Linked DNA regions of Homo sapiens: regions 1, 2, 3, 4 and 6 are each linked to region 5. Evidence: promoter capture Hi-C in 16 types of primary human blood cells and fetal thymus (Javierre and others, 2016). All regions are on one chromosome and are shown on one strand. Each heading gives the region's core, a stretch centred on a gene start or on the middle of the fragment in contact. The rest is flanking DNA. Distances are from core to core; before and after follow the strand shown.

Region 1 (3,870 bases), core at 195-2,694, 260 kb after region 5:
ATTTCTATAGAGAATTTTACCCGTAACTTCATTTAACACTCTGGTGGGAAGTGGTAATTTCAGGTGTACCAAAATGACCCCACCTGGAATTGTAGGAACTAACTCAGAGCCAGGGAAAGATCACTTTTCTCTTCACAATTTATAGATGAGAAAACTGAATTGAACCCCCCAAAGTCAATACAGCTCGTTAGTTTTTAGTGATAGGGTCAGTAAATAACTCAGATGCTCTGACTCAGGCCTATCCCTTGCTGCAGCCATATTTCCAAGAGAATGAATGACTTGGAGAAAAATGTTGTAAACATCAATGAGTGTCATTTTTATTCACCAAAACTTGTATTCAAACAAAAATTCCAAAGACTTCCCAATTTTCCTCAATTTAAACTGACAACCCATGATTATCTCATGTTTAGTACAGATTTAAGCAACCTCACCTTCACAGTTTGTGACCACAGCCCATTTCATCCCCAATTGACTCCATACAGCAAAAAAACTCAACAAAGACAAGATTTGGAATGAAAAAAAAAAAAAAAAAACAAATAAGTAAGGTCTGTGGCTTTATGGCTTTACTCATTCAAAATTTCACCTACTGTGAAATGGCTTATCTAAGTTACAAGGTATAATCAAGTTTAACCTGATCATTATAATATTCCACCAGTGCTAAGAAAGTACACATGTATCTGTAATGCATGCTTATACCTGTATTAAACACAAAATCTTGAACTTCCATAATCCTTTTAACTCAAATGTATCAAAAGGCCTTAAGAACATGACGAATACATTTCTCATTAAGAAAGAAATCATGACTTTGTCAGAATTTAGCCCAAATTAAGCGTGCCCAGGATTCTTGGTGTTTGAGCTGATGCTGAGGCCTTAAAACCCAGGTCAAATCTGCAGAATAACTTTAGTATGGAGTAAACAAGCCTAGTAATCAGTAATTTGTTATGAAAAACATCATTTTGGAACACTAGTTTTTGTTCTGCTTAAGGGCAAGAAACATGTAGTAAATATAGCCCCCTTCCCTCCCTTCCTTCCCTACTGCCCCTACCTCCTCAATTCTTCCCTCTCCTCCTGCACAATTCTTGGCAGAAAATATTTGAACACTCAAGACAACTGACTTCAGTTATGAACACAGTAGTCCAAGAAAGCTTCCTGTAATCTCAGTTTGAGCAGTTATTGATTGGAAGTTGAGGGGTTTCTAAGACTTGCCTTGAGAACTGTTAGTTAGTATGCAAATGTTTAATTTCAGCTTCATAAGTATTCTCATTAGTCCATGTAATTCTTACCTGTAGTGGTTCAAACCTGTGATTACATGCTATTTTTTACCCATCAAAATCAAGTCACTATAGGTACTGGCTTACTGCATCTAGTGCTTGATATGTCTGAATTTCTCTTTCTCACATTTGATTTGGGGACTTAATCCCATTCTGAGCACGAAGGAATTTTATCTAGATTGAGGGGAGCAATAAAACTGATTCTTCTCAACTATAAAAATGAAAAGTATTCATAGACATATTGGTGGGCAAATGTGGTTGATTGATTCATTCCAAAAACTAGTGACTGAAAATAAACTGCTATCCTTGCAGACAATTACTGAAATAAAACACAGTCAGCTTTACATCTCTTCAAAACCTGTGGGAAACAGCTCTGAGTGAAAATAATATATACTGGTAAAACTGCTTTTTTAAATAAGAGAGACATCTTGCAAAAGATTCAAACTCATTCTTTTCAGGGCAACTTAATTACACAAGCTTTATGCTAATTATTGTTACATTAAAGATTTGGCAGCTTTACAAAAATCCTAAACTTGTACATGCAGGTTTAAAATCTCTATTTTAATTCTCCAGAGTTAGACTAGGAAAGCATTTCAGACAATGCCAACCTGTAGTAATGCTTGCTTTTTTTTTTTTTTTTTTTAACCTATCGGTACCTCATAGTTTCATAGGAATTTGCTTAACAAATCTGGACGTAATTAGTTGCCTGGCCTCCAAAACCCAAACCTGTATTCTTTGGTATCATGGGATGCTGTTTGCCAAATGACAGGCCTCCAAAAGCCTGACCATCCTAAAGACCATCTTTGCTGGTGGGTGTTATTCCTGTGCTTAGTATGAATTCCCTTCACACCAGACCTTCAGCAACAGAGGTGTGTTTTCAATATCCAGCATTCATAAAAGGGTGTAGATTCATGTCATACCAGAGCAGAAGAAAGGGAGTAAACAGTAAAATGGAGATATATTAAGCCATCATTCCCATGTAGTAGGGAGTGTTAGAAAACAATTGTTTAAATCACCCTTCTCTTGATTAAAATAATAATAATAAAAGAAAGGTTTCAAAGTGGCTGTAAGAAGAGGACAAGTTGACTCAGAGGTAGGTACTTAAATCAAGTGAAAAATAGCTTAGATAATGTGCTTGATAGATGATATAACAACCAGAGTGGAACATAAGGGGAAACTTTGTGGGGTGGGACAGTTTGGAAAGGTTTGAATTAAAGGTTTACATTGTTGAAGGAAAAGTATTATCTGTCTTAATCTTGTGCTAATAAAGTCTAAATAGCTGGGTGAAATCTTAGAGGACTATGTCAGAGTGAATGATTTTTTATTCTATACTTCTTTTCCAAGATCCTATTTCTGTAAGAAAGACATATTTTTAGTATCTGTAAGAAAGACATATTTTTAGTATCAAAAAGTAATAATATCACTTGCCAGTTGAGGATCACCAGCATCATCATCAAACTTTATACATTATATGTGGGTAGCCACAGATGTGTCATGGAGGTGGAGAGCTGAGTGATGTTGCTGTCACTGACAAGTGGTATAATTTAGACACAGTATGGGGGACATGAGCACTCGACACAATCTTGCAGGTGGAAGGGAGAGGATCCATGAAGAGGTGTCTTTGCTCAAGCCACCTTGCCCGTCTTTGATCATGCCTCTCCACCTGGTCCTCACGGGGGCTTCAGAAGTTCTGGTCAGGGGCTCTGCATTCAGCAGGTTTGACGCTGCTCCTAAAGGTTGATGGTGTTAATGTAATGTTACTTTGCCTTTGGGAGTGGAGACGTAGTGTTTTCTCCTGATTGGTAGAGTGGTGGGAAAGGGATTAAACTTCATTCTAGCTCTCAGCTCCTGACGTGAGCCAGAAAATTTCTGGTTAGGCTAAATTCACAGATTTTCTCTACTATACTTATCATCAAAGTTTGCCAAGAGGTGGAAGAGCAGAAGCACGAAGATCAGTAGTATCCTAGAATATGGTCTCTTAATTCCCTATTTTCCTGGCACCTTTAAACACCCTTGCTCCCCCGTCTAAAAAATACCACCAAGAAGAAACCTTTTATACCCTCAAGACTGAAACAGGAATGAGAGGCAAGGGTAGAAAACTGAGATGACTTGTTTGTCGGCACTTTAAACAGATTTCAATACTGTGAAATTATCTTGGGGGTTGTTTCCTCAAACTTCAAGGTATTTAAAGATGATTAAAAGACATGTTCTCTTGCTTAAGGATTTGCTGACATGTAATGCTTTTTTTTTCCTCCAAATAAATGCAGGAGTGACATTTAATAAAGAGTCTGAGAAGAACATGGCCCTGAGCAGTACTTTTATTCCCATTACCTTTTAAGAATCTAACTCCTATGCCACTATCCCTCCCCCTCCACCCACTTGCCCTACCTTCTCCCTCACCATTATTAATCTAACCTGAATCACTCTATTCTTCTCCAAGGGAACACACCCAGTAACAGCAGTGAATCATAGACACTATTGCCTCTCTAGTCTCTAATGGATTTGACAAAATGCCAGATCTGGGAGAATAAAAGGACAGGAAATTCAGGTGAAGGGAGCTTTTTAGGTTCTTGTTTAGTACATTGTCCTGAATATTAGT
Region 2 (3,891 bases), core at 618-3,117, 280 kb before region 5:
CCACTCATTAGCTCTGGGCAGTTCTCAGCTTCTCTGTGCTTCAGCCTCCTCATTATTTGGGCATAATTATACACACCCCACTTACCTCACAGATGTGGAAAGGCATTTACACAAATGAGAAGGGCTTTTGTCTTTAGGTTAAAAAGGAATACCTAATTTAAAGACACCGCCCTCCACGGCCAAAAAAGCCAACCCCTCAAACCAGCTCTTCAACTAGAAGAGGGAGCCTTGAACCCAGGTCTCTGTATCGGGCTGAAAGGAAAACCATGCAATCGAAATTGCTCCTTGGAACAAGATCTGTGCTTCTCCAGCTGGGTTCCTTGGAACACTGGGGTTCCACAGAGGTGTCTTGGAGGCTGCAGAGAAGGCCAGAGAGAGGGTGAGGGGATAGGTGCTAGGTCCACCTCCTAGACTTCAGCCAGAACTTGGGGTTCTGTTGGACAAAAGGATTCCACTGCTTTTTAAAAAAGTTTGAGACCCACTAGACCAGATGATTCTATAAATCTATGAGATCCCGTGGCTTGAAGATTCTCTGAATCTTAAAGTCTGTGACTGTGAGTGATTTTAGGATGTTCTGCCCTTCCCTCTGTGAGCCCCAGAAAGCATGTTTGTTTCTCCTAAATTTCCCATGGTTGGGTTTAAAGGGAGAGGGTGGAGGTGGGTGCTGGGAGGGGTGGAGAACCCCCTTGCCTGTCTAAGCCAGGCACCCGCACTTCCCGGCTCCCTCCCATGCCCCGTGCCAGATGCGGACCAGCAGGAGGATGTTTGTGGAGACAGTAAAGGGCTGGCAGCGCCTCCCAAACAGGGGCCAGCAGATACCTGCTAGCAAGCCAGGCGGCTGCAGGCTGACCTGTGGTTACAGATTAGCCAGTGCTCCGGATGTGAGAACGTCAACAAATGGGACTCTCAGGCTGACGGCAAGCTCTGCCTCAAAGGAGGCCCCGGCCTGCCCTGAGGTCCCCCACGCCCAGGTCCTGCCTTGGTTACCCTGCACTGCTGGCAGCGTATGGCAGGGCCGGGTGGCTTTCTGGGCAACAGCAAGCCCTGGGGCCCTCCTCAGTCTGTCTCCTCCCGCTCCCACTCCTGCTCTTCACCAGGTGTTTGCTAACAGTTTTCTCACCTGTCAACCCAAACCCTCCTGTGTTTCAGCTCAGGTCAACTCCTGTGTCGTCCAGAATACCTTCCCTAGCCCACTCTGAAACAGGAAGGGGACTTCAGCCTTAGTTGGGGATCTTGATCCTAAAGGGGTTATTTACTGTAAAGGAGAGAAGACTCAGAGGGAGCCCCAAGGAGGGTATCTGGGATACATATGGATTCCCACCAGGAGAGTTTTTCTAAGTCATGGTTATTCCAAGGTGGGGAATAGGTAGCCTTGGGAGATGGTAAACTTCCTGACCCTAGGGCCATTCTAGCCTCTAGCTGAGAGATTGGCAGGGATAAATGGATTTCCTAGTACCTTAGTTCCTCGAAAGTCCTGTCTAATCCTAGATACTAAGACTCTGGTAACTGAATTGTATTCAAATATTTTCCTGACTTCGGGGCAGGCATGGTGGCTCACACCTGTAATCTCAGCACTTTGGGAGGCTGAGGCCAGCAGATCACTTGAGCTGAGGAGTTCGAAACCAGCCTGGGAAACCTAGTGAAACCCTGTCTCTACAAAAAATACAAAAATTAGCCAGGCGTGGTGGTGTGCACCTGTAGTCCCAGCCACTTTGGAGGCTGAGGCACAAGAATCGCTTGAACCTGGGAGGCAGAGGATGCAGTGAGTGAGCCTAGATCGTGCCACTGCACTCCAGCCTGGGGAACAGAGCGAGACCCCGTATCAAAAAATAATAATAATAAAAAAAACATGTCCTGCCTTTAAGCCTTGCCCCTTCCACTGACTCTTGGCTCCCAGGGCCCAGTTCCTGGCTCCTCCCTCTCCCAGACTCCCTGCCCAGGGCTGGGCACACAGTAGGTCAGTGAGTAGGGCCCCCAGCACCACCTAGAGGAGGGGAAACACATGGCCGGGACCTCCCTGCCCTGGCAGGGTCTGCTTATTTTTGCTCTGGCCCAGGGTGTTGGTAGAGCCACTGCCGGGCACCAGAACAGGCAAGAGCTGAAGACTGACAGGTTCTTTCCTGAATGATGGGACATGCAAGGGTAGTCAGCTTAGCGGCTTCTCCTCATGGCCTTGTGCCATCTCTGTTCCCATCATAAACACCTCCAAAGCAGGTGGGCACGTGTCCCGGCACCGATTATGTAACTTGTTGCTTCCGAATGTGGGGCCACCCCACTGCTTGGGGTGAGAGGTTGCCCATCTGGTTTTTCTAAGCCTTACCCATCAAGTGGTGCAGTCTTGGGCCGAGGTTGGTCCCATGGTGTTCTCCCATGGCTTGGGGCCCCAAACACTGCCCTGACCTCTAACTTGGTATCAGCTCACTCAACTGTGACCTTTGCCGTCCCTTCTGCGGAGGGTGTTCTAACCAGCTCCTGTGTCTCGAGTTTCATCTATTTCAGGGCTTCGACACAGCTGGGCTCACTGATGGGATGGTTATTTTGGAGCTGCTGGCTGCCTGCAGCTGCTCCTGACCCTGAGGGGTGGAGAGGGAGAGAAGACAGACTTGGGCTGGGCACTGGCCCTAGGGATTCGTTCCGTTTTTAGCTGTTTCCCAGCAGCTTTTGTCCCTCCCCTCCCAACTCTAGCAAGATTTCAAGCAAGGCTAAAGGGATCCTCTTCCTACCCCCTTCTCTTTGTACATCCTCCACTGTTTCTCCTTTCTTTCTTCTTTATCCTCTCACCTCTACATTTTAGCTGCTGCTTCTTGGTCTTTGGTGATTTCATTCAATGAGTATTTCCTGGGTACCCATCATGACTGATGTGAAATCCTGCATTAAGGTTCAAAAAGCCCATGGTCTGAGGACAGGTGTACCTGACTTTTAGTTGAGACTGTGCTCAAGCCAAGCAAATACTAATATCTGAAGTTATCGGGTAGCTTCTGGGTGCTGGGGGTGGTCCCACTTTACCTCGGATCTTTCCAACAACAACTCAGGGCAGGTATTATTACCCCTATTCTCTAGGTGAGAAATTTGAGGCTGGGAGGAAGGTTGCTTACCCAAAAGCCACCAGCCAAGTGCTGGATCAGACATTTAAACCTAGGCCTGATCCAGACCTGGATCACCCCAAAGCCCATGCACTTTCTTCTGAATCATGTGGCATTTCACATGCCAATAACAACGGCTTATATTAACCTAATGACTGTGCCAGGTCTCCTATTAGGTGCCCTGTGTACCTTACTCCTTTTCATCCTCACAGCGTCTCTTCTAAGGGGAGTATTAGATACAGATTTTATGTAAATCAGTAGATGCTGATTTCACTGCTGAAGAGGCCCCAAGAAGTTCAGCTATTTGTCCAGTCATATAGCCCTGTCATACAGGAAATGGCAGGGCCAGGATTTGAACCTAGACTGATGACTTCAAATTCATTGCACTTAACTGTGCTCCTGTCCTGCCTACTAGTATATGAATGTTGGTTACTGAAAAAAACCTAATGTACTTTTAGGTTGCATTATTAGAAGTATAGCATATATACCAAGGGAGGTGATGGCCACACTATGCCTTGAGCTGGTTGGTGCACATCTAGAGTACTGAGTCTGGTTTTGTTCATTATCTAAGAGGTGGGAAGGTGTGTGGGGACTCTGAGTATTCCCTGAGAATTGTCTTCAGTACTGGGCTGATAGGCAGCTCAGGAGGTAGTGGGTTAAATACAGGGAGGTAGATTTTGGTTTAAAAGAAGGAAATACTCTTTAAAGACAGATTAACTCCACAATGGAACAGGTTGCCTGGAAGTTAGTGAGCACCTGGTAGTGTGCATGTTTAAGTAGAAGGGGACTCCTGAAGGGGCAGAGAGAC
Region 3 (3,782 bases), core at 1,074-3,573, 280 kb after region 5:
TGGCAATTAGGCAAGAAGAAGAAATAAAAGGCACCCAAACTGAAAAGATGTAAAACAATTTCTATTCACAGATTAATGAGTCTATATATATAGAGAAAGTCATATAGAATCCACAAAAACCCTACTAGAGATAATACATAAATTTGGCAAAGTTGCAGAGTATAAGATTAATATGCAAAAATCAGTTATATTTTTATACATCACCACTGAAAAATCTGGAAAAGAATTAATAAATCAATTCCATTTACAATAATATCAGAAAGAAAAAACCTAGAAATAAAGTTTATCTAAAAAGTGTGTGTACAAAGAAACCTACAAAATATTACTGAAAGAATATAAAGATTAAATAAATGGAAAGTCATCCCATGTTCTTGGATCAAAAGACTTAAGACAGTACTCCTCAAAGGAATCTATAGATTTAATGCAATCACTGCCAAAATTTCAATGGCTTTTTTTTTTCAAATGGAAAAACCTGATCCTCAAATTCATATGAAGCTGCAAAGGATCATGAATAGCCAAAACAATATTGAAAACAAAAAGTTGGATGGCTAACATTTCCCTACTTCAAAGAAGAAAACAGGGACTGAGGCCAGGCACAGTGGCTCACGCCTGTAATCCCAGCACTTTGGGAGGCTGAGGCAGGCAGATCACCTGAGGTCAGGAGTTTGAGACCAGCCTGGCCAACAAGGTGAAACCCTGTCTCTACTAAAAATACAAAAATTAGCTGGGCATGGTGGTGGGCGCCTGTAAATCCCAGCTACTCAGGAGGCTGAGGCAGGAGAATCGCTTGAATCCGGGACATGGAGGTTGCAGTGAGCCAAGATCATACCACTGTGCTCCAGCCTGGGAGACAGAGCGAGAATCCATTTCTCCATTTCAAAAAAAAAAAAAAAAAAAAGAAGAAAAGAAAAGAAGAAAGAAAACAGGGATAAATCTTCATGACTTCAGATTTGATTCTTAGATATTTACTTATTTTATTTTATTTTATTTTATTTTATTTTATTTTTTGAGACAGAGTCTTACTCTGCCACCCAGGCTGGAGTGCAGTGGCGCCATCTCGCCTCACTGCAACCTCCGCCTCCCGAGTTCAAGTGAGTCTCCTGCCTCAGCCTCCTGAGTGGCTGGGATTACAGGTGCCTGCCACCATGCCCGGCTAATTTTTGTATTTTTAGTAGAGACGGGGTTTCACATCTTGGCCAGGCTGGTCTTAAACTCCTGACCTCAGGTGATCCCACCTCAGCTTCCCAAAGTGCTGGGATTACAGGCATGAGCCACCGCACACGGCCTGATTCTTAGATTTAACACCAAAAACATGAGACAATCCACAGAAGGGGATAAAATATTGGCAAATTATATAAGGGTTTAATGTCCAGAACATATAAAAAACTCCTATAACTCAACAACAAAACCTAATTTGAAAATGGGCAAAAGACTTCAGTAGTCATTTGTCCAAAGATATACAAATGGTCAACAAGCATATGAAAAGATGCTCAATGTCATTAGTCATTAGAGAAATTTACATCAAGAATAAACCCACTAAGATGGCTGTAATTAAAAAGCAAGCAAGCAAACAACAAAAAAGAGAAACAATAACAAGTTTTGATAGGGACGTAGAGAAAGTGAAACCCACATACTTTGCTGGTGGGAATATGAAATGGTGCAGCTACTATGGAAAACAGTTTTTAGTGCCTCAATCAGTTAAACATACAATGACCATACGATCCAGCAATTCCACTTCTAGGTATATATCCCCAGAGAACTGAAAACAGGTTTTCAAAAACTTGTGCATGAACAGTTATAGGCACCACAATAGCCAAAAGGTGGAAATAGCCCAAATATTCACCAGCTGATGAATGGATAAACAAAATGTATATCCATAAAATGAAATATGATTTGGTCACAAAAGAAGAATGAAGACTGATACATGCTACAACATGGTTAAATCTTAAAAACATGCTAAGTGAAAGAAGCCAGAAAACAAAGGCCACATATTGTATGATTCCATTCATACAAAATACTAAGAATAGGCAAATCCATACAGAAAATGCAGATTAGTGGTGTCCAGGGGCTAAGGGAAGAGGTGGATGGGGAATAATTGCTTAATGGGTGTGGGGTTTCCTTTTAGGATGATAAAAAATGTTCTGAGGCCGGGTGGGGTGCCTCACTCCTGTAATTCCAGCACTTTGGGAGGCTAAGGCAGGAGGATCGCTTGAGCCCAGGAGTTTGAGACCAGCCTGGGCAACATGGTGAAACCCCATCTCTACCAAAAAAATATAAAAATTAGCCAGGTGTGGTGGCACGTGCCTGTAATTCCAGCTACTGAGGTGGGAGAATGGCTTCAGTCTGGGAGGCGGAGGCTGCAGTGAGCTGAGATCATGCTCCGGCACTCCAGCCCAGATGACAGAGCCAGACCCTGTCTCAAAAAACAAAAAACAAAACAAAACAAAAATGTTCTGGAACTAGATAGCAGTACTAGCTGCACAACTTTGCGATGTATTAATTGCCACTGACTTGCACACTTTAAATGGTTAAAATAGTACATTTTATGTTATGTGTATTATACCACAATAAAAATATCTCTAAAAAACTAAGTTACAAAGCAATCAACACACCTAGATCAGAGATGACAGGTGTTAGAACTATCAGATGGGAAATTTAAAATAATTATGACTAATTTCCTTATAAAGAGTATAGCATGGAACAGTGGAGAAAAAGTAACTTTATAGTAAAGAAGCCTGACAAAACTCTACCTCAATTCAGGTGGTCAAGATTCAATAAACAGTGATGACATGTTGATAGCATGTATCCTTGAAATCATGTGCTGAGAGGGCATTTTACCTCTGTGGTCTCTTTCTCCATACTCCAGGCGAATAGTGATAAATACATCAGAGAAACCACAGTTGAGGGACATTCCACAAAATAACTGACTATTACTCTACAATAAACTGTCAAGGTCATCAAAAACAAGACAAAACTGAGAAACTGTCACTATCTAGAAAGAAATGACAACTGGCCGGTGGCACGGTGGCTCAGGCTTGTAATCCCAACACTTTGGGAGGCTGAGGTGGGCGGATCACCTGAGGTTGGTAGTTCGAGACCAGCCTGACCAACATGGAGAAACCCCGCCTCTACTGAAAATACAAAATTAGCCAGGTGTGGTGGCGCATGCCTGTAATCCCAGCTACTCGGGAGGCTGAGGCAGTAGAATCGCTTGAACCCAGAAGGTGGAGGTTGCAGTGACCTGAGATAGTGCCATTGCACACCAGCCTGGGCAATAAGAGCAAAGCTCAGTCTAAAAAGAAAAAAAAAAAAAGAAAGACATGACAACTAAATAAAATGCATCCTGATGAGATCCTGGAACAGAAAAATGACCTTAAGTAAAAACTAAGGAAAAGTGAATAAAGTTTGTACTTTAGTTAATAATAATGTGTCAATATTAGTTCAATAGTTGTGGCAAATGTACCATACTGATGGAAAATAATAAAATATAAGAAACTGGATAAGGGGTATATGAGAATTCTCTGTACTATCTTTACAACTTTTCTAAAACAAAAATTTTTGGAAAGGATAGACAACATGCATGAACAAATGGGGAATTTCAGCAGAGGGATGGAAAGTATAAGTTAAACAGAAATACTAAATGTAAGTCTATCTATCTGTCTGTCTATCTATCTATCTATCTACAATAATATGGTAACAGATATTTTGCCTTTGATGGGCTCATTATCAGACTAGACACAGCATAAGAATGAATGAACTTGAATATAGGGCAATAGTAATTA
Region 4 (3,808 bases), core at 668-3,167, 300 kb after region 5:
AGTCATGTAGCTAAAAGGGGGAAGAGCGCTCCAGGCCAAGGATACAGTGTGTCAAGGACCTGCAGCGAGAATGACCTACAGGTGTTCAAGTCAAGAGTTTGCTGGGTATCTGAGGAACAGTAAGGAAATCAGTGGAACTGGAACAGTTAATGAGGGAAAGAATGACAGGAGATGAAATGAGATGGGATATAGGGATTGGGGGAGGAGGCAGGGGGCAGAGGAACTAAGGCAATAAAGCCTGGGAAAGGTGACAGACAGTAGTTTGCATTAGAGTGGTAGCTGTAGAGGTGTCAGAAAAGCAGCTACTTTGAAATAAAAAAGAAGGGACTTAAAAGGGCAGAGGTGTGGTCTCAGGGTACTGCTTTGGGGAGAAAAGGGCAACTCGAAAGAGGAAAGTGCCCTGTGGAGACTTGGGAGTAAAGGGAAAGAAGGAAGAGGTGGAAATTAGGGGGTCATATAGAAACAAAAGAAAAATCATAAAATCGGAAGACACACCAGCCTCTTCCCCATTGCTTAAAGAAGTCAACTGTATATCAAACTGGTAATGTTATCCTCACAGAAAGGGGAAAAAAAGAATTAGTCAAAGTAATTCTAAACATAATATGTTGGTGTATTCTTAGCGGGATATAGTCTAAGAACAAAAAAAAAGCTACTAGGAAATCCGAAAATAGCTATAGTATTTGTTTTGTTTGTTTGGAGGGACTGTTTCTTTATTTCCAAAAAGATACCTGTTAATATTCAGTATCACAATGGTTGCACTATTGGTTTCTCTTTCTCCCAATTGGCCCCAAAGAGACTACATCAAAGAAGAGTACATTTTAAGCCAATAAGCTTCAGGATGTAAACCTAACAGACCTTACACAAAAACCTTACCAAAAAGTGGGGATTGAGTGGGAAAGAATCTTTAAACGATCAGCAAACTGCCAGCCCACAGACTAGAGAGCTCTCACAGTCAAACAGGGTGGCTCGGATGCCACAAACCCAAAGAAGCAAAGTTCCAAAATAATATAAAATTTAAAAGGTTTTGTACATAACTTGTTCAAAATTTGTCCAGCACCAACTGATACCAAGCACAATGATATGGTACTTTTAGAGACAGCAGCTCGAAACCCAGAAAACGGCAAGGAGATGGGGTTTATATGGCTAAATCGGTGGCAAAAACACAATCTTACTTCTTTCTTTCAAGGACGCAGGAGAGCAATTAAGTGGTCCCCTCAACATAAGGGGCACATGATCCATTCTGTAAGCAACTGGCAAGGGGATAGGGATGGGACAAAAATTTGGTCTCAGAGGTCTCACCATCTTAATTTTGGTCACTTCTAATGAAAAAAATAAAACAAGTAAAAATAACATTGTCTAAAGATATCTTAAAGCTGAAAACCTGAACTGCACATTTTTGTTGTTGCTGCTGTTTGGCTAACCCCTCCTGGAATCACCTTTCTGGTTTAGCTGATACTTTGTAGAGAACAAAGTGGTTTCCCACAGGGGAGTCTTTCCCTGGACTCTGTTTAGTTCTCAGTAAGGCAGGCCCATACCTTTTTCCTTCCTCTACAGAGAGGGCAATGTGCATTAAGCTGAAAAGTCACCTTCCAAAAGTGACAAAGGGATTAGACTGCAGAGCTGTAGAAGTATTTGGAATGTTTTACATATGGTTGCTATAAAACAACAAAAAAGGTAATTACAAAATGTGCACATCACAACATGCTTTTAAGGACATTATGCGTTGTGCTCATGTTCCCTTAAATGTTGTTACCAAAGGGGCTCAGCGTCTAGCCCAGCTGGAATCTCTGGGAAGAGGCAGAGATAGTTTGGTGAAAAAAACATAGGGGGTAGATGGGACAGCATTTTTGATAGAGGTATTTTATGTACATTGTAGGACTGAGCAAATCAGTAAGTATATGTGTATTTTGGGAACTAGAGTTTTCACTGAAAAAGGGAGACCTAAATATTAAATGAAGGAAAGAGAAAAGAACCCTGTGCTGTCGAATTGGAATTGAGTTGGAATTGGAGCTAACTGGATGTGTGTGTGTGTGTGTGTGTGTGTGTGTGTGTGTGTGTGAGAGAGAGAGAGAGAGAGAGAGAGAGAGAGAGAATGACTCCTAACCCCTATAGCAAAGAACACATCTGGTATCCAGATCTTGGTCTCTAAATACCAATTGCCAGCAAAAGGAATCCAGGATTCTCTAAAAAGAAAAATAGCTTATTCTTGGTGCCTAAAACATCTTGCTGTGTTAGAAACGGAGAAAGTGCTCAAAAACTGATGAGGACACATGAAAAGGACACAGATGACAACTTGAAGAAGCTCCGAACACTTTGAACAACAGAAATAATAATGATAGTCATGGATTAAAACACATTAAGTTAGAGTATGCCTCTGGTAGGGCAGAGGAAAAGCTCTTCTTTGCAGAAGAATACTAACTAATAAATATAAATGATAAAAGCTAGAAAGGCACCGTTTTGCAATCACTACAGTAATAATTGATTCAGGCAAGGATCATCAATGGATGCCAAAAGACAGAATGAACAGAGAGTCAGATTCAAAATGTCACCCCCACAGGTTAGTTATTACACACGAAGGAGAAAGAGAACTTCTATAACAAAGAAATCTGGAGAAACCTTCTTTCCAGTGATCATACTTAATGTTACCAACAGTGGGACTGACTGAAATCTGGAACCTCCTGATACGATGCACTGAAGACACAGCATCATCTACTTAGTATGATTGTCAGAAATACTGCACCTAAATCTAATCATGAGAAACCAATCAAATTCAACTTGGGGGACATGCCACAAAAAAATAAGCCTCGATTTTTAAAAAATGTCAATGTCATGGAACACAAAGTTGTAGAACTGTTGTGGATTAAAGGAGACTAAAAGAACATTACAAACTAAGTGAAATTGATTAGATTTTTTGATAAACACCAATAAAAAAAGTTATGAAGGACACTACTTGGACAACAGGGTAATCTGAATATAGACTTAATTAGATAATCATATTAATATTAAGCTTCTTTTGTATGATAATTTTACTGTGGTTATGTAGAAGAATATTTTTGTTCTTAGGAGGTTTAAGCTGTAATATTTAGGAATATCATGATATCTGTGATTTGTCTCCAACTATTCAGGAGAAAAAGAGAACAAATGTGGCAATATAAAAAACTGATGTGCACAGGTATACATATACAATATATATATAACATATACGTAATATATATGCCATTGGTACAAATATATGGTATATAGATGGTACTATTCATGTAACATTTATGTACATTTGAATAATTCTAAAATAAAAATTGGTGAAAAAAATAATCCAATGTTAGGGAAGTAAGTGGAGGTATAAAATGAATTAAGATTGGCCGTGAGTAGATAATTGCGGAAGCTGGATAAAGGGGTCATTATACTGTTCTCTCTATTTTTATACATGTTTGACATTTTCCACGATACAAGATTTTTTTTTTACTTGAGAGAGAAATTGAAAACCATCAACATAGATTTTTTTGAGTTTTGCAGTAAAGGAGAGCAGAGACATTGAGTGATCCAGGGGGAAAGAGAGGCCAAAGGAGTTGGGTTTTTTCCTTTTACTTTTTGTTTTGAAATAAATTTATACTGACCCAAATATCACAAGAACAGTAGAAAGAACTCAAGCATTTCCTTCCAGGAAGTATTTTTTTAATAAGATGAGAGATGTATACAATTATAGCATGTGTCTACACTGATGGGGAAAATCCACAGGGTGGGAAAAATTGATGATGCAGGAAAGAAGAGGGTAAACTGATGAGTAATGACATTGAGTAGGTGAGATGGG
Region 5 (3,872 bases), core at 442-2,941:
TCCAAAAAGAGCTTTCTTGTAACAGCAGCAGAAAATGCTTGCTGGACCAGATGACACAAAAGAAACAACTCTCTAAGGGTGTCAGGGACTGGACCCGACAGGCACCCACCTCCCTGCCTAGTCAACCTGCCTCCACATTTACCTCCTCCCCATATGAGCCCAGCCGCATTTGCTCAGCTGTAAAGAAACTCAAAGTTCAGAGCTACACTGGTGACAAAGGCAAAAAGAGTAGCCCGAGGCTGACATTGCCACAAACCCCAGTCCCTTTGCAACAGTGGAAGAAAAGGCACTTCAGAGATCAATGTACAATCCAGGGCAGCAACCAGCGCCTGTTTTAACTGTTAAGATTAATGCTTTGAGCACTGGAACTGCTCCTCTAAATACCCAATTTGCAAATAACATGCAGTCCTCTGTGCTTGGGTCTCTTCTATCTCAAGTACAGGAGCACAGACGCTCAGAGGGGTCAAGGACACCGTGTTTACTTCCTAAGGTGTGAGGGATGGGAAGACAGGACCGGCTGAGATGAAAGGGGAACTGTCACATAGGCTCTGGAGCTGCCCCAGTCAACCTTAACCCCTTCTCATTAAAGTTTGGGGGAGGAAGGGGGAGGGGCGGTTCCTCGGAGACCACAGCAAACATTCGCCTCCTCGTGTCTGGAGATGGAGCATCACTTAAGAGGAAATGAACCCGGTTAAGGGTCACGTCCAGAGGAGGGATAAAAGGAAAAGCCACAATTCTCCTCACACCGACGGACACAATGGCTTTATGAGGGAAATCAAAGCTTAGCGCGGAGGGTGGAGGTTGGGCAAGGGGGCGGCGGCTTCCTTCTGCCCCCAGCCCCAGGCCTAGGAAGGCAGAGACAGAGCTGGCGTGGGAGGCAGGGCGCGAGGCTTCCTTCTCCAGGGCGAGCTCTGAAAGCATCTCGGGCTGTGTGAGCGTGAGCGCCCAGGGCCCCTGGGGAGGGCCGAGGAGATGCGCTTTCCCGACGGGGCTGCTCTGTGAGGGGTTGACGAAAGCTCCCCCCACCATCCATCAAAGGCGGACAGATGACTTCACCGTTGTAACAGACAAGGGCAGCCACTTGCCAATTCCAATGCCAAAAAAAGAAACCGGGGGGGCGGGGGTGCGAAGGAGGAAGGACAGAAGAGGCTTCCCTGGAGATCACAGCCCTGCGAAGAAACTCCACGGCTGCTGGCTGCCCAGTGGGCGCTTAGCTTCGCGACCTCACAGCTGGGAGGGGCAAGGGGCCATCCGGGGCCCTCCCGGGACCTCGGGCCACCCCCAGCAGGGTCGGCGGGGGCTGTACTCACGTAGTGCTTGGAGGGGTTCCTCCGCTTCTCCACGTCCACCACGGTGGCATCCTGCACGCAGTAGGCGAGCATCTTCCCCCACAAAGCGAGTGGCGCCCCCGGCGGCGTCACCTTCTCATCCCGGCCGGGCTCCGGCTCCTTCTCCAGCTGCCGGGGTCCCGGGGCCGCCCGCCACCCCGGCCCGGCGCGCCGAACGCTGCCCGGACTCCCGGCGCCCACAGGTCCGGCCCAGGGACGGGGGAGGGTCCCGGAGGGCGCGCGGGCTCCGTGCGCCCCGGGGGACTCCCCGCCGGCCTGCCGCGCGCCCCTTCACTCCCGCGCGGCCGCCGCGCTGCGCTCGCCCGCTCGCTCTCTCCGCCGCCCGGTGGGTCCGGCGGGAACTGGCGGAGCAGAGGAGGGGCGGGGGTGTGTCCCGTCGGCGAGGGGACGGGGCGGGGGCCCCGGAGCCTGCTGTCAGCGTCCTGGGGAGGGGCCGGCGGCTCCCCTTCGCCGCTCTCCGGCTCGGGCTCCGGGGGGATCGGCGCTGGCGGAGGCTGTGGGCGCAGGAGGCGGAGGCAGGGCCTGGCAGGCAGGGAAGGGAAGGGAGGGAGGGGAGAGAGGGGAAGCGCGCGGGGAGGGGCTCCGGGCCGGGGGAGGGGCTCGGGGCGACGGGGAGGGGGCTGCAGCCCGGCCCCAGTGGCAGGGGCGGGCCGACGAGCCCCCACCCGAGCCCAGCGCGCAGCCAGCGGCCTGGCGCAGCACCGGGCTAGTTCGCTAGGCACAAAAACTCAGGGTGGCTTCGGGGGGAGAGGGAGCGGGGAAAGTGAGCCCCGCGCGCCCCCATCCTGGCTTTCCGCCTCGGAGCGGATTTGTGCCTTTTTGTCCCCACTTTTATGTCCCCCTACAACTTCCACCCCCAGATCTCTTTAATGAGAAGTAGTTTATTACCCGGCTGTTACTGCCCAGGCCCCCGAGGAGGAGATGGGAATGGGGAAAAGGCCAGCTTTAAATCCTTCAAGCCAGAGCCTCTTTGGACGAACCACCTGACCCTCTGCAGGTCATAAAGGGTGAATTCTCCCCGGAAAAGTGATCGATTCGTTGCCTGAGTCGTCCATCGATCTGGGCTTGTGTAACTACCCTGTGCATCATTTACCAATGACAACGTTACAGACTCTGCATAACACCACTGCCTTAAGCCCAGGGCTCCCCTGGGGACCCTCCCCAAGCTGGCGACAGGGAAAGGAGCATACAATGGTGGGAAAACCCACCCGGTTGGAGGCCAGCTCACCGTGAGCCCCAGGCTCTGGCATTCTCACCCCTCCCTCTAGTCTGGAAAACCCACTTTCCAAGCCACTTGTCCGTGGTCCCTGGACTTGGAGCACAGTTACTACTTAATTCAATGTAGCTTCCCCCCTTCTAGTTCAACATTTTTTTCCCATTCTGCTTTCAAACATTTAAAGGGTAGTGTTTTCACAACTACTCCAGTTGTTACACAATCACAATAAAGCTTTGTGACTGTGGACCAATGTGAAACATCTGAAAAGAGGACAAATAATTTTGTGACCTAATTGCATTAATACTTTCTTCTGCGCGTTCTCTAGACTGTCAGAACCCAGGCACAGATCTAAGGCTTTATTTATTCACATATTTGCTCCATACAGAGTAACCCACTATTCCTCCAACCTTCCTGGGGAAGGGCGCTAGGACACCAAACGATGGCACGGGACAAAGAAAAAAAAAGATGGATGGGCCTAGGGGGCTCAGACTGTGAGAGATCTTGGCACCAGGCCAGAGCTTCTTGGTCAGAGAAGATGACAGAAAACCTTTGTGAATGTTGGAGCAGGAGTCCTGGGGGAAGGTGCACCTGGTAATGTTGCTCAGCTGATGGGAAAATGGGAGGACAGGGCACTACCTCCATGAGCAAGGATTATTCCCTGAAGGGATGAGAGGTAGACCTGGAACGGGCCCTCCATATTGAGCTCCCGAACTTGGGAGGGTGCTGGCCAGCTCCAGGTCCTCTCTGATGATGGATCAAGACAGCCTGTGAGTTTGTGAGGAAGAGATTCATCATGGCTCTCGGATAACTCGTCTTCTGTGGATGGCAAAGTCTTCTGGAAGTGCTAATAAAACCTGAGAAGCCACCAGCGAGGGGAGCTGGTGTTTAGCTGTTGTGGGGGGAAGAAGAGGAGGGGGTTTAGTTTGATTTGGGTCCCCTTGTGAATCAAAGCAGTCAGCTCATCTAAAACAGCACTAGTGGTTTCCTTATTACCCTTCTTTCGGACCCAGATCCACAATGAACACACCAAGCACAATAAATTTGTAGGAGAGAGGGCCCAGTTCTTCCCCACTTCCTAGCGGCCTACAAAGTGGTAGCCTTTCTCCTGCCTAAAAGACTCCCTGCAACTTGACATTTTATAAATTCAGGCCTTTAAGCCTGACTTGAGCATACTCCCAACTTCCCCCTTTGTTCCGTAATTACCTTTATTGGAGGGAGCAACTGAGTGCTCCCCACTCAACCCCATGGTGCCAAGATCTGGGCAGAAGTTATTTCTACCTGTGGGAGAAAAATGTCTTTTCTGTACT
Region 6 (3,590 bases), core at 707-3,206, 340 kb before region 5:
AGGAGATGCTGCATTGTTTACTATGAAAATTCCAGTCACTGCTCTTTTAGCAGTCATGCTAGTACATTAGCCAAGGCTGTTTATAAAGGTATAGTAAACTTTCACTTCTGCAAGGTCAGTGAGACTCTCATTTGCAAAAGATCATCTTGTTGCCAAGAACAAATCACCACCTAGTGAAACATTTAGCTCAGCCATGAAAGTGAAACCAGATGACGAATGAACTAGTGTCCACACAGACCCTAGGTGTCTCTGGGCAGTAGGAGCTATTGAAAGTTTTAGATTTGCTTTTTGGAAAGATCGTGCTGGCTACCCTGTGGAGGATGGAGTTAAGAGGGACAAGTTGGAAGACCACTTATGAAGGAAGTGAAGTTGTCTAGGGGAGGGATGCTGAAGCCTGAACTACAGATGTGGTCCAAGAGAGGAAGGAACACGTTTGAAACATATTTAAGAGGTGTGCTTTGGCCGAGTGCGGTGGCTCATGCCTGTAATCCCAGCACTTTGGGAGGCCAAGGCAGGTGGATCACTTGAGTCCAGGAGTTTGAGACCAGCCTGAGCAACATTGCAAAACACCATTTCTACAAAAATATAAAAAATTAGCCGAGTGTGGTGGTGTGCGCCTGTAGTCCCAGCTACTTGGGAGGCTGAGGTGGGAGGATCATTTGAGCCTGGGAGGTGAAGGTTGCAGTGAGCTGAGACTGCACGACTGCACTCCAGCCTGGGTGATAGAGTGAGACCCCATCTCAAAAAAAAAAAAAAAAAGAAAAGAAAAAAATAAAAGGTTGTGTTTGGCAGCACTGATAACTGAATGATGCAGGCGGTGAGAGTGAGGGAATAATCCAAGATTATTCCTGGTGCCAGGTTTTCAGGTGACTGGGAGAATGGTGATCCCATCAGGACCCCAAGCAGAAGGCGGGGGTTGGAGGGAAAGATGATAGGTTGAGTTTTGGCCAGGGTGTGTCAGAAGAGCCCTGAGATATCCTGGGGGAGACGCTGGGTTGGCAACTCCATGTGTGAGCTTGAATCTCAGAAGAGAGATCAGGGCCACAATGAGTTGTCAGCAGTGGGTGTCACTTAAACCATGAGAGTGGTTGAAATATCACAGGGTGGACAGAATGAAACCATGAAGAAGGTGTGGGAGAGGTACAAGGAGAATCAGGAAAGGTCAGAGGGCCAGAGAGGCCAAGGGAGCAGAGTTTAGAGGTATGATATGGCACAGTGCAGTGGTTCTCTAAGGGCCTACGAATTGCCTGGAGAGCTTGGAAAAATGTAGATTCCTCCTCAGGGGACCTGGAATAACCAGTACGATTCTGGAAGAAAGAAAAACCTGGAGGACTTACACTTCCTGATTTATTTACTTTCCTTTCTCCTTTCTCCTTTCTTCCTTCCTCCCTCCCTCCCTCCCTCTCTTCCTTCCTTCCTTCCTTCTTTGGAAGAAAAACCTGGAATACTTACACTTCCTGATTTATTTCCTTTCCTTTTCCTCCCTCCCTCCCTTCCTTTCTTCCTTCCTTCCCTCCATCCTTCCTCCCTCCCTCCCTCCCTTTTCTTTTTTCTTTTTTGAGACAGGGTCCTACTCTGTCACCCAGGCTGGAGTACAGTGGCGTGATCTCGTCTTACTGCAGCCTCCACCTCCTGGGCTCAAGGGATCCTCCCACCTCAGCCTCCTGAGTAGCTGGGACTACCAGCATGTGCTACCACGCTCAGTTGATTTTTAAACTTTTTGTAGAGATGAGGTCTCACTATATTGCTGAGGCTGGTCTTGAACTCCTAGGCTCAAGCGATCCTCCTGCCTTGGCCTCCCAAAGTGTTGGGATTACAGGTGTGAGTCACCATTGTGTGACCTGCCCTATACCATTACTCACCTTCTTCAAACTTCTAATAATAAACAAGAAATACCTACTGTTTAATGACCTCCTACTGTGTACCAGGCCCTGAGCCCCAAGACCCACAGCTCTGACCTCATTTACTCAACACAATGGCTTTGTGAGCTAGGAGCTAGGTGGGTCAGCCTGAGGGGCTGGTTTCCGTAGTGAGTCCTCTCCTGCCCACATCTGGCCTTTGCCTGAGCTGGCCCCAAATTTCATCTCCTCTGTGTCTCCTCTGAGTTGATAGGACTGGAAGCCCCTGGCTGTCTGTAATCAAGTCCACAAAGGTTCATGAGTCAAATCAGAAGTCAATGTACTGTTTCCCAAAGAGAAATTTTCTGTCAGATGGACTTCCTGGCACCTTCTCCCCTGCAGCAGCTCTTTGAGTGCTGGGTGAACTTGCTCTAGGCCTGGCAAGTTGAGAACACAGTCTGAGAGTTCAATGCCTATGGGCTCTGAGCCTTGCCCAGGCCACTTCACCAACAGGGAAATGCCTGCCAGGAGGACCCAACACTTGGGCCTGGCAGGCCACCATCTCCCTGGCTCTGCTCCCGTGGGCCTCACCGCAGTGTGCCTCAGTGACATCCCCTTTTCACCGATCTTTGGCATCCAATGAACACATCTTTTCTTCACCTCCAGCCAGGTATCCTTTATGTCTCTTGAGGGTAACTTTGCATGCCCTGATCCATGAACAGTCAATTTCCTAGACTGAAATTTGGGAAAGCTTATTGCCAAGAGCCATGGACTGGGAGTACCTTATTTTGCCCCTTTCTCCACTTACTGCCCACACAGTTTCAGGAAGGAAGCAGTGGGTTAAGTAAATGATGACGTCTATTCACAGGAATACCTTGCAGCTTTACACATTAATGAGGTACCATGATTTAAAAAAAAAGTCTACTATATTATTAAAAGAGCAAATTGTGTAATATGTATAGTATGGGCCTGTTTGCATTTAGAGTGCTACATTTTTCCTTCCCCCTCTTCCTCTCCCTTCCCTTCCCTCCCTCTCTCTCCCTCTTTTCTTTCATTCCTTTCTTTCAACCAGTATTTAGTCAATGCCTACTGTGTGCCAGGCACTGTTCTAAGTACTAGGATACAGCAGGGAACAAGTCCTCTGTCTCATGGAATTATATTCTTATGAAGAGAGACAGATTTTTAAAACCCAAAAACATGACATATGGATGTCAGATGATGAAAAATGCCCTGGAGAGAAAGAAACCATGAGTGAGGCAGATACAGGGATTATGAGTTGGGGGGTCTGGGGAACAGCACTTTGAATAGGTTGGGCCAGAGAAGACCTGATGGCATTTGCAGGAGGTGAGGGAGTGAGCAGTGCAGGTATCTTGGGGAACAACTCTATTCTGTGGTTCCATACCTTGATATCTACCTGTGCATCTAGTTATCACTCAGACATATTTACTTTGTTTGTTTGTACACACACAGACCAAGGCTGAGTGGATACCCACCCAACTGTTACCAGGGGCTACCTCTGGAGAATTGGCTGGGGTTGAGTAGTGTTGGGGAACGGGATGCTTTTACTCCACACAAATCAGTACTGTTATATTTATTTATTTTTAACAATAAGCACATATTGCTTTTACAGTTTAAACTTTTATAGGCGCAGTGTCTCATGCCTATAATCCCAGCACTTTGGGAGGCTGAGGCGGGTGGATCGCTTGAGGTTAGAAGTTCAAAATCAGCCTGGGCAACATGGTGAAACCCTGT

What was found. Contacts are between HindIII fragments. The CHiCAGO score rates a contact against its expected background, and 5 or more counts as called.
Region 1: a contact is called between a fragment that was not itself captured here and the fragment with the promoter of SH3PXD2A in region 5, in 1 of 17 cell types (non-activated CD4 T cells). The highest score is 5.2, in non-activated CD4 T cells.
Region 2: a contact is called between a fragment that was not itself captured here and the fragment with the promoter of SH3PXD2A in region 5, in 3 of 17 cell types (M1 macrophages, M0 macrophages and endothelial precursors). The highest score is 10.1, in M1 macrophages.
Region 3: a contact is called between a fragment that was not itself captured here and the fragment with the promoter of SH3PXD2A in region 5, in 2 of 17 cell types (total CD4 T cells and fetal thymus). The highest score is 6.5, in total CD4 T cells.
Region 4: a fragment that was not itself captured here is called in contact with the fragment with the promoter of SH3PXD2A in region 5 in 2 of 17 cell types (activated CD4 T cells and naive CD8 T cells); the score reaches 5.9 in activated CD4 T cells.
Region 6: a contact is called between the fragment with the promoter of NEURL1-AS1 here and the fragment with the promoter of SH3PXD2A in region 5, in 2 of 17 cell types (M1 macrophages and erythroblasts). The highest score is 5.2, in M1 macrophages.

What each region holds. Positions count from the first base shown.
Region 1 is chr10:104,114,248-104,118,117 of GRCh38, forward strand. No RefSeq gene overlaps it. Among named protein-coding and RNA genes, the nearest start is that of SFR1, 6.0 kb to the right of the region's middle. The HindIII fragment of the contact is 603 bases long and covers 1,144-1,746 here.
Region 2 is chr10:103,578,122-103,582,012 of GRCh38, forward strand. The region is part of intron 3 of NEURL1 (neuralized E3 ubiquitin protein ligase 1); the gene reads left to right. LOC124902496 (a long non-coding RNA gene) reads right to left here. Exons shown (of 3, transcript XR_007062277.1): 3 at 1,850-2,868. Among named protein-coding and RNA genes, the nearest start is that of NEURL1-AS1, 63 kb to the left of the region's middle. The HindIII fragment of the contact is 5,414 bases long and covers 1-3,891 here.
Region 3 is chr10:104,135,381-104,139,162 of GRCh38, forward strand. The region is part of intron 34 of CFAP43 (cilia and flagella associated protein 43); the gene reads right to left. Among named protein-coding and RNA genes, the nearest start is that of SFR1, 15 kb to the left of the region's middle. The HindIII fragment of the contact is 4,816 bases long and covers 1-3,782 here.
Region 4 is chr10:104,155,718-104,159,525 of GRCh38, forward strand. The region is part of intron 27 of CFAP43 (cilia and flagella associated protein 43); the gene reads right to left. It also overlaps the pseudogene LOC751602. Among named protein-coding and RNA genes, the nearest start is that of SFR1, 35 kb to the left of the region's middle. RefSeq lists an enhancer at 1-378. The HindIII fragment of the contact is 2,176 bases long and covers 830-3,005 here.
Region 5 is chr10:103,853,885-103,857,756 of GRCh38, forward strand. SH3PXD2A (SH3 and PX domains 2A) reads right to left here and starts at 1,692. Exons shown (of 15, transcript NM_001394015.1): 1 at 1,311-1,692. The coding sequence starts at 1,382. The HindIII fragment of the contact is 2,015 bases long and covers 780-2,794 here.
Region 6 is chr10:103,515,486-103,519,075 of GRCh38, forward strand. NEURL1-AS1 (NEURL1 antisense RNA 1) reads right to left here and starts at 1,957. Exons shown (of 4, transcript NR_120675.1): 1 at 1,901-1,957. All of the region lies in intron 1 of NEURL1 (neuralized E3 ubiquitin protein ligase 1), which reads left to right. RefSeq lists enhancers at 30-109, 130-289. The HindIII fragment of the contact is 6,397 bases long and covers 1-2,587 here.